Linked DNA regions of Homo sapiens: region 1 is linked to region 2. The links are contacts of gene promoters, found by promoter capture Hi-C in human tissues and cell types (Jung and others, 2019). All regions are on one chromosome and are shown on one strand. The core of a region is centred on a gene start or on the middle of the fragment in contact, and the rest is flanking DNA. Distances in the headings are between cores, read along the strand shown. Region 1 has its middle 150 kb from the start of LINC02398. Region 2 holds the start of SLCO1C1 (solute carrier organic anion transporter family member 1C1).

The links. Contacts are between HindIII fragments. The study calls those that stand out against the background at their distance.
Region 1: a fragment that was not itself captured here is called in contact with the fragment with the promoter of SLCO1C1 in region 2 in 4 of the 25 tissues and cell types used here (H1 embryonic stem cells, dorsolateral prefrontal cortex, liver and 1 more).

Annotation. Positions count from the first base shown.
Region 1 is chr12:19,857,116-19,862,279 of GRCh38, forward strand. No RefSeq gene overlaps it. Among named protein-coding and RNA genes, the nearest start is that of LINC02398, 150 kb to the right of the region's middle. The HindIII fragment of the contact is 4,180 bases long and covers 1-3,860 here.
Region 2 is chr12:20,691,734-20,696,741 of GRCh38, forward strand. It overlaps SLCO1C1 (solute carrier organic anion transporter family member 1C1), which reads left to right and starts at 3,599. Exons shown (of 15, transcript NM_017435.5): 1 at 3,599-4,074. The HindIII fragment of the contact is 14,433 bases long and covers 1-5,008 here.

The sequences.
Region 1 (5,164 bases), core at 521-3,020, 840 kb before region 2:
ATAGAGTTAGCATTTAAAGTGCAGTGATGAGGGGGGGAGCGGGGAGGGATAGCATTAGGAGATATACCTAATGCTAAATGACGAGTTAGTGGGTGCAGCACACCAGCATGGCACATGTATACATATGTAACTAACCTGCACATTGTGCACATGTACCCTAAAACTTAAAGTATAAGAATAATAAAAAAAATAAAAAAATTTAAAAATAAATAAATAAATAAATAAAATGCAATGATGATATGTCACAGTTACTGAGTGGCTTGTAGATGTTGCTTAACTTCATGGCACCAACCCAGACAAGTTTATTCCTTCAGAATAGCGCCGTCAAACCATTAAAACCTGGGTGCTTATGAGCAGAAGAGAGTGCATGAAGCAAAACGCCCAAGTTATTTTTCCAGAAATTACATTTAGTAAATCAAAGGCGGTGCCTTGGAATCTGCATTTTTGCAAGCTTGCTACGTCATTCTGCTGAGGTGGTTCTTAGCCAACACTGTTCCCTATTGCTCTGGGGATTTTAAAGGATGCAGACTGGCAGATCAGCTCAGAGCCCAGTTTGAAGCCCGTTCTACCAACTGAAGTAAGACAAGTGAATAATGCCATGCAGGCATGGCATTATCAAATGCCTGAATATCAAAGGTATGCACCTTAATATCAAAGGGACAGAGAGAATAAAGTGTGGCCAGTGTCAGGTGGGATAGATTAGAAATTTTTTTTCTTTCTAAAAGCTATTCAGGGGGGAATAATGGCCTGCTAAAATGAAAATTAGATTGTTGAGAGCCATGCCATGAAGTATTTTAAGGGGGACAATTATTTAGATTTTCAGTAGAGAATAGTAAAAGGAGCTATAAATGTTTTTTAAAAGAATAGGATATAAAACTGTACATTTGTGAAAAGGGTACCATTTTACAGTTGGGAAAGGCCTTAAGCCCTATTCTTCAGAGATGTTAAAAATATTAGAATGGGGGACTGGCCCTTCTGAAAGAAAGAGGACTTTTTTTTGAAAATAAAATCTATACTATTTATTATTATTTCTGTGGATCACCACCACAATATATACATTTCTTTGGCCACTGGCTGAATTTTGTTGTATCCTCCTTAGACTTCGAGTTTAATCTTTCTCCTGGATTATGTACCTGAAGAGCCTTAAAAAGTCACTCAGGACAAGAATGCTCATGTCAGTGAACCATAGAGTCTAAATTTCTTGATTGCCTAGAGGTAAAAAAGAGGGCAAAGGAACCTTGGATTTATTTAAATTCGAAATGTACTTTTGCATAAAAAATAACTTTCCAACCAACATTTCTTGTAGTCTGTTTGTAGTCACATGCAGTAAACTCCTCTGGGATAGAAATTTTTAATAAAGATTCCTTTGTTGCAATACTTTTATGTTCAGGAACACCCTTATGAAAAGCCAGTTTTTTAAAGGGGCATAGAAACTTGTAATAAAAATGCTACTGAATTCTAGGAACCTACTTCTTCCAATAATCCCCATATTCCCTGTTTATCATCACCCTCATTAATCAACAGAATAGTCCAGTGAGACTGGTTGTTTTTTAGTAGAATAATTGTAATTTGTAAAGGGTCAGAAGGGATATGAATATAAAAAGATTATAGAAAGTTTCTTCAGCTCTACTGTCTTAATCCCTAAATAACCTTGAAGGGCACTAAGGCAGTACACTAGGAAGAATAATTGTCAAGCTGAGATATCAGATCCCAACTTCTGGAACCTGCAAATGTTACCTTATAAAGTAAAGGAGTTATTGTAGAGGTGATTCAGCTAAAGATCTTGAGATGGGGATATTGTCCTGGTAACTGGATGTACCCTAATTCCAATTACAAGTGTCTTTATAAGAGAGAGGCAGAGGGAGATTTGCTACACAAAGAGGAGGCAATGGGACCACAGAGGCAGAGACTGGCGTCATGTGGCCACAAGTCAAGGAATGCTGGCAACCACTAGAAACTGGAAGGGAAAGGAACAATTTTTACTTGGAGCCTTTGCAGAGAACATGGCCCTGTGGTCACCTTGATTTTCACTCTGTGAAACTGATTTCAGACTTCTCGTCTCCTGAATTGTGAGAGAATACATATCTGTTGTTTTGAGACTTCACGTTTGTGTTAATTTGTTATAGCAGCCCAAGGCAACTAATTCAGGCAGTGAATTCTTCCCAAGCACCCTTCTTTTGACTTGTAACCTGGTTTGCAGCACAACAGTCATCTGAGAAACTTCTTAACAATTTTGAATTCCTGTGGCTCATCACAGGTATACAGAGAATCAGAATTTTTAGGAATAGGATCCAAGGATCTGTATTTTTTTCACAGACTGCCTAGGTGAGATTCTGCTGTGCACCAGGTTTGATAACCATTTCACTAGGATGCTCTATTAGTTTCCTATATCTGCTATAAAAAAAATCACCACAAATGTAATGGCTTAAAACAACACGAGTTTACTCTTAGGCATTTCTGGAGGTCAGAAGTTCAAAATTACTTTCACTGGGATAACATCAAGGTGTCAGCAGGGCTGATTACTTCTGGATGTTCTGAAGGGAAGATCTGTTTTCTTGCCCTTTTCGCTTCTAATGGCTGCTTATACTCCTTGGTTTGTGGCCTCTTTTTGCCATCTTCAAAGCACATCGCTCCAGTTTCTGTTCTGTCATCACATCACCCTCTGACTCTCACTTCTGTGAACCTCTTATGAGGACCACTGTGATCACGTTAAGCCCACCTAGGTCCTCCAGGATAATCTTCTCATTTTAAGATCCTTATCTTGATCACATCTGCAAAGTCCATTTTGCCATATGAAATGACGTTTTCAGGTGCCTGGAATTAGGATGTGAATATATTTGGGGAGCTATTATTATTCAGTTCACCACAGACCCCATGATAACACCTCATGTAGAAACCATAGATGTAAATGAGCTTCAATAACAGGGGGTCATGCTTAATTCATGATGTATTCACCTGCCTTTTTTGTGCTTATTTTTTTTAAAAGGCATTGGAATAAAAACATTTACATATGACTATTATCTTTGATACTTTAGTGGCAGATAACAAAACATGCAAAGCTGCTGATTTCATGAAAGTATTATTATTACAACATTACAAATTGTTTTATTTGATTTTATTTTTGCCTTTGCTTGAAACTCTCTCATGAACAAATTAATTTAAACGTTGAGAAAAGGGGAGTGGCCAGAAGGGAAGCTTTTCACATTCCAAATTGTCATCATTCAAATAAATACATGTTCTAAGTAAAAGCACAATTCTTGGTCTGCAAATGTAGGTTTAGGCCATACCAAACAAAAATTCACATAAATAAAAACTGAGCATTACTATGCAAATGTAATCATAAGACAAGCCCTCAAGGGCCCCTTTTCTAACAGTTTACCCCCTCTAAGCACTTCTTTATAAAACTTCTCAGGCTGTACTTTCTGTATCTTTTATTTAATATAGAATACCATAGTTGAAGTAAGTGGTAATAGACACCACAGAACATGTAAATGTAATTTCTTTACGTTTTATGTTGATTCTGTAGTGATGTCTCCTTTTCTCATAACTCATAGTAATAACTTGTGCTTTTTTAAAATTAATCTTACAAAGCTATACATTTTTAATAGCTGCATCCCACAAATTCTGATATGTCTTATTATCATTTAGTTGAAAGTATTATTTATATAAATTGCTTTTTTGTTGACCCATGGATTATTTAAAAGTATATTGTTTATTTCAACCCCTATATACAATATATATCCTTAATATTTTAGAGACCTTAAATTAGTATATTTTTCATTTCCAAAATAATCCTGAAATTATAGCACATATTATTTCATTTACCGTCACCTTTCTTCTTTTGTGCTATAATGGCCATATATTTTAATGAAATTTTTTTTTTCCTGGGTATAGAGTAAGAGCTTGATGATGATTTTCTTTTAGCACTTTACAAATGTTAATATGTTGCCTTCTGACCTTCATCATTTTTACTGAAAATGATTCATCAGCCCTGGTGCTATTAATATTTCTTTAAAAGGAGTGTGTCTTTTTCCTTTGGCCACTTTTAAGAATTTTCTTTGTTGGATGTGCCTAGGTATGCTTTTCTTTATATTTGAACTGCTTGAATCTCATAATATGTTTTGAATTCATATTCTGAAGATTTTCATCAGCTTTCCAAAACTGTTATTTAGGACCTCTTTAGAGATTGCTTTTGGTCTAGTCTCTCATTCTTTTTCTGAGATTCTAATTGCGTACATTTTAGGTCTTTTCACTTGGTTTCATATGTTTCTTGTGGTTTTTTTTTCTGTATTTTTCATCCTCTTTTCTCTATATATTTTAATCTTGATATTTTCTACCCATCTATGTTCACTATTCTTTTTCTCTGCTTTGTCTAATTCGCTGTTACATTCATCTATCCCATTCTTAGTTTGGGCTATTTTCTAGAATTAAAATTTATCTTTAAAAAAATAAACTCTAGTTCTTTGGTCAAATTCTCTATCTTTGTTCGTATTTTCGTGAGCATATTAATTATTGATATTTTAAGCTTTTTCTTAATAATGTCACTATCTGGGTTACCTTTATATTGTCAACCCACTCACCCCAATTTTTAGTCTCATGATTCTGTTTTCTGGCTTCTTGGTAATTGTTAAATGAATGCTGGACATTTGTATAAATATTTCTAGAAGCTCTGGCTTATGCTTTATTCTTTCAGAGAGATTTTAATTTTCTTCTAGAAGGTAGTTGAAGCACGGGAAAATCACCTTGATCCAATTGAGTCCCAGTTTCAGTTTCACCTTTATCCAAGAGTTTAGTCCTTCAGTGGTATCAGCAGAAAGCCTGAGGTTTTTATCAGTGCCCTTCTTTATAGACAGACCCTATAACCCAAATTAATTTTTCCCCAGACTGCCAAAATATCTACTTTTTAACAATTTAGCAGTTTCTTTCTGATTGTTTCTTCAGCAACTTGCACTATACCATTAAGGAGTCAGCAAATAGCCAGATGCAGTGGTGCACTCCTGTAGTCCCAGCTCTCAGGAGGCTGAGGCAGGAGGAGCCCTTGAGCCCAGGAGTTTAAGGCCAGACTGGGAAACATAGTGAGAACTAGTCTTTAAAAAAATACAGATAACAAAAAGAGTCAGCAAATAATTTGAAATGGAAGTTGCACGTAGAATTTTGAGGTCAC
Region 2 (5,008 bases), core at 2,349-4,848:
TTCTAGAAATAAATTTATCATCTCTGGAGAATAGTCTCTATTTTCAGACTATTTGTTGGACTAAACCAAGGTTGCACTGGTATTATTTCAGTAAAACTTCAAAACCTTACCAAAATCCTTTCAGGATACTTTAAGATTGAATTACATTTCAATAAATATTAATTACCCTAAGAAAGAAAAGAAAATTATAATATTCTTATTCTCTCATCCTTTTTTGTTTATTAGTTGGAATTCTATGAAGAGAAATTTGTCTTTACTCTGTAATAACTCTAAGGAAAGAATGGAATAGAAAAGCTAGGATAAACACACAATTTCTCCCTAAATACCACTAGTTTTAAATCTATTAATATTTAAGTTGTGTTTAGAATTACTCCAAAGTGACCATGTGATGTTTTAATAGTGTTTTTAACTCATAAATTTTGTGATTTTATATGTTTCAACCATTACTATTTTATATGTTTCAACCATTACAATTATTCTTACCAATGCTCAAACTTTCCTATATTTGATTAGCAGAAACCTGTTCAGGCTGGCTTCTGAATCCTATTGGCACAATGTAGTCTTCAAGGCATCCCAGCTCTTTTTTATGACAAGATATTCCAGGCCTATCTTATATCTTTACACCTGGTATTAGTCACATATCAAGGATCCATGGTGCTTTTATTTATGGTGCTAGTTGCACTTATTACTACTTAGTTGATCATTGTTTCTAGACCTTTTCAGTGGAGAGAGCTAATACACACACACGTAGATATCTATATCTATCTATATCTATATCTGTATCTACATATCTCCTGTATATATGTATACATTTTTCCAGACTGAAAAACTCAACTCAAATTTGGGTATACAAAATATTCCCTAACCTCATTGGATCTTATATTATAGATTATATTTAAAGCCATGACACCAGATAAGGTCATTAAGGAAGTAAATATAGACAGCAAAGAAGATATTCCACAGACTGAATTTTGGAATATTCTAGCAATGAAGACTAAGAGCAAATGACCACTGAAGTAGGAGGAAAACCAGGGGTGTGTGGTGAAACCAAGTGAATAAAATGTATCAAAGAGAAGGGCACATTAATGACATACAATTCTGCTAATACATCAATTAAAATGAGGTCTGGATATTGATCACTGGATTTATTAGTGTGAATGCCTTTAATGTTCTTGATGAAAATATTTGCATTGGAGTGGTAAAGGCAAAACCTGATTAGAGTTGGTGAAAAATGAACTGGAGGAGAGGAAATATATACAAGGAATGTGACTAAAGTTTGGGCTTAGAAACATGGACTGTAGGAGCAAGAAGGAAGACAGCTAATAGCAATGTACATTTGGGTAGAGAGTAGATGTCATGAGGACAGAGTATAATATTTCTCCTGATATTTCTGTTTAGTTAGTGAATTTCCTAGACAAGATCATCAGCTAATAATCAGGGTGCAGCCAGAAATGAAGATTTGAGAGAGGTAAAGTGATTGGGTCATTAAAAAGTATTACGTCTAGCAATGCCTCTATGACTCAGTGAGTTTAGTGGTTATAAATATAAAATAAGCCCTAAGGGCATGTTACTGAGTTGTTCTTCAATCACTTAAAACAGTGCGGATGCAAATACTAAGAAGAAAGAAAGTGGATTTATCTGAGGTGAGCTTTGCCTGGGAAGATCAATAAATTGAAAGAGAAACAGGAGAATTGAGGGTATACAGAAGGAAGTGATTAAAATAATTGCATGAAAAAATTCAAGTAAGGAGGAAAATGAAAATATGAGTGTACTGGCTTGAATTGTGTCTCCCAAAAAGATATGAGGAAGTCCTAACCCCCGGTACCTGTGAATGTCACCTTTCCTGAAAAGAGAGTCTTAGCAGACCTTATCAAGTTAAGATGAGGTCATGAGGGTGGTCCCCAGCCAAAGATGACTAGCGTTTTTTTAAGTACAGAGGACAGAGACATAAAGGGAGAAGATGGCCATGTGGTAACAGAAGCAGCTGTTGGAGTGATACACCTATAAAACAAGGAGTTCAGGCTGTCAGCAAACACCAGGAGGTGGAAGAGGTAAGGAGGATTCTTCCCTACAGGTCTCAGAGGGAGCATGGCTCTGCTGACACCTTGATTTTTGACTTCTGGCCTCCAAAAGTGTGAGACAATAAAGTTCTGTTTTAGGTCACTCAGCTTGTAGTACTTTGTTAGTGCAGTCTTAGGAAATGCATTCATTTATATGTTGTCTGTGGTTAATTTACCACCAGAATGGCAGAGGTGAGTGGTTGTGATAGAGATTGCATGGTCCTACAAAACCTAAAATATTTCTTATTTGTCCCTTTATAGAAGTTTGTTAACTCCCTCATCTAGAGTTTGGAAATGGGAATGAAAGGCTGAAGTAGGCTACAATCCAATGCAAGGTTGCACATAAGAAGCTCTGAATAAGTGTAAACATTATGTGCATTCAAAACAGTAACATTAACTGTGGACTCTGGAAATAAGAAAAGGAATCGTGTTGGAGAGTGAGACTGAGCCAGTTGGGAATAGACAAAATTACATTCTCAAGGGAGAATTTCATTTCTTGGTGAGGAAAATTATGCCCTTTGGGCTGGTAAATACTGTCTCCTCTTGAATAAAACAGTGGTCTGGCCACCTGTTAGACACTGAGAAGTCTAGACTAACACTCAATGTATTCGGATGTTTGCTCACTATTTCCGATGGAAAAGTCTGGTTTGATTGTTAAAGTAAAATATTTGGCCTTTCAGAGTGTGAAAACACCATTGCTTCATTGCAAGGTTTAATATAAACCCATTTTTCTTGCATTTTCTTTTCTTTCTTTTGTAGTAAAATGTGCTTGAATAATATTAACTATTCTGACCATTATGTGAACTAAATATATATATATATAAAATGATGATACCTTCCGCTCATTTGCAATGTGCTTTTGAATACATTATATAATTTAATCCTTAAAACAGCCCTATAAATCTGTTTTTTTTTTTTTTAAACAAAAAAATTCTGCTTTACAAAGGAAGAAGTTGAGACTCAGTAAAATTAAGTGACCATCCCAGAGTCTCAGCCACTTAAGAGTAGGGTGAATCTTGGATAATTCTGGTAGCAAATTTATTTATTGGTAGAAAATAAATGCAAACTACTACTGCTTAAGATCCTCTAAAGTTTTTCTCTTGGAAAAAGAATGTATTAGAATTGTGGACTTTCTCAGTGCAAGGATTTATTTATCCTTGGAATTAGGCAGAATAAACAATTGAATGCCAAAAATTCAACGTGTTTCTTTTCTGTTTTCAAAACTCATAGAAATTGTAAATATGAGCAACTGATCATGTCTCTGAGAATTAACTCTTTTTGTACAGAGCGCTGCAGAGCTTTGATTGTGACCTGATACTTGGTCCTTAAAGATTCTAGAACACCAATGGAAAAGAAAACCATGTAGCAAATTAGCCCAAGAACCGTTAAAGACAAAACAAAACAAACCAAAACCAAAACACACAAACAAAGAAAACACAAGGATCCCAGTGATGTCCCTAAGGAATAGTTGGCTTAAAAACTTTCTGGAAGGAGGAGGGGTCTCTGTTATAAACTTCCGCCCTCCTCTGGCTTCTGTTCCTTACCCTCTGCCCCCTGCGGAGTTGTGTTTTCTGGGAATCAGCAAGTAAGATCACAAGTGGTCTTTTCTTTTATTCACTCTCTCCCATAAAGAAAGCTTTATCACGTGTGGCCTTAAACTTGCAGCAAATTGCAAAGAAATGGCTCAAAAGCTTCAGCTCTTTCTGTGCCCTGGGAGCTGAGATGCACGTCAGTGGCCTTGCCAGCGTGGCCAATTCTCTGCTGACTGCCAGAAAAAAGAGGCCAGGAAGAAAGAGGAAAGAGAAGAGATCGCTCAGGGGTGAGACCATGCCCTTCATCTTTTCTTTTCCCTAATCTCCTCTGCTTGTGTCCACCCACACTCTCCCCACCTGGCAAAATTGTTCAAAATTGCTGTGGAGTTTACCTCAGTTTCCTCTTTCAGTCTGTGGTGTGTGGTCCATCCTCTTGCTGAGCACATTGAAAGGAACTGGCTATCTTTGATCTCTTCCTCCAGGTAAGACTTGGTTCTCTCATTTTATATTTTGTGACTAATACATCAGATTCTTATGGGAGATTAACCCTTAATTTCTGTGCGATTTATGTTTTATCCATAAAAATATCAGTGAAAGGTGATGATCCCCTCATTAGTTTGATGGAAATAAGAGAGAAGATTGGTTAAAGAAATCAGATAAACTCAAATTTGAGTTCAAATTTTGAGTCTCATGCTTATAAATTGTTTAGCTTTTGACAAGTCACTTAATTGCTTTGGGCCATCTAATTTAAAAAATGGAATTCTAATATTACGTTTGTTGGGTTGTTTTAAGGATTAGAAAAAGTACGTACATTACTCAACACAAAAATAGTACTTATTAAATCTGAATCTGACACAGATAATTTGTATTAGGTGAGAAATTAGTTTCTAAACAACACACACTCCTCTGCAGCAAGTGCCGTGAGGCTATTTTTTAGTTTGTCTGAAGGGAGGCATCCTGGTGTCCAGAAGTCAAGCCAGGACAGAGGTTTTCCTCACAGGAGATGGCCAAGAGAAGAGAGGGAGGAGCGTGGTTGCCTTTAGGACTTTCTCTGTGGCAGTCCTTGGGGACTGATTGCTGGACAGAGTCCGAGTCAGTTGCAGAGCAGAGGGGTTGAGTACATCTGCGGGATCTAACTACAACCTTCCTAAGCCACTTGCTCTCTCCATTTAAAATCTGGAGGGCTGATTTTGAAACTAATGAGGACTGATTATTCAATGTTTTTGAACCAAAGGAAGAGAAACTGCTTGGCTTGTTTTTCTTTGGCCTCCAGAATAAGTTATGCTCCAAACCCAGGGTATTGGATGAAAACTGTCGTATGTCTTTTCCTGGAAGAATCTATTCAAGTGGCCAGAGATCAATTAAGGATTTGCCAAATGCAAATAATTCTGAATAACTGTGTACTCTTGCTCTACT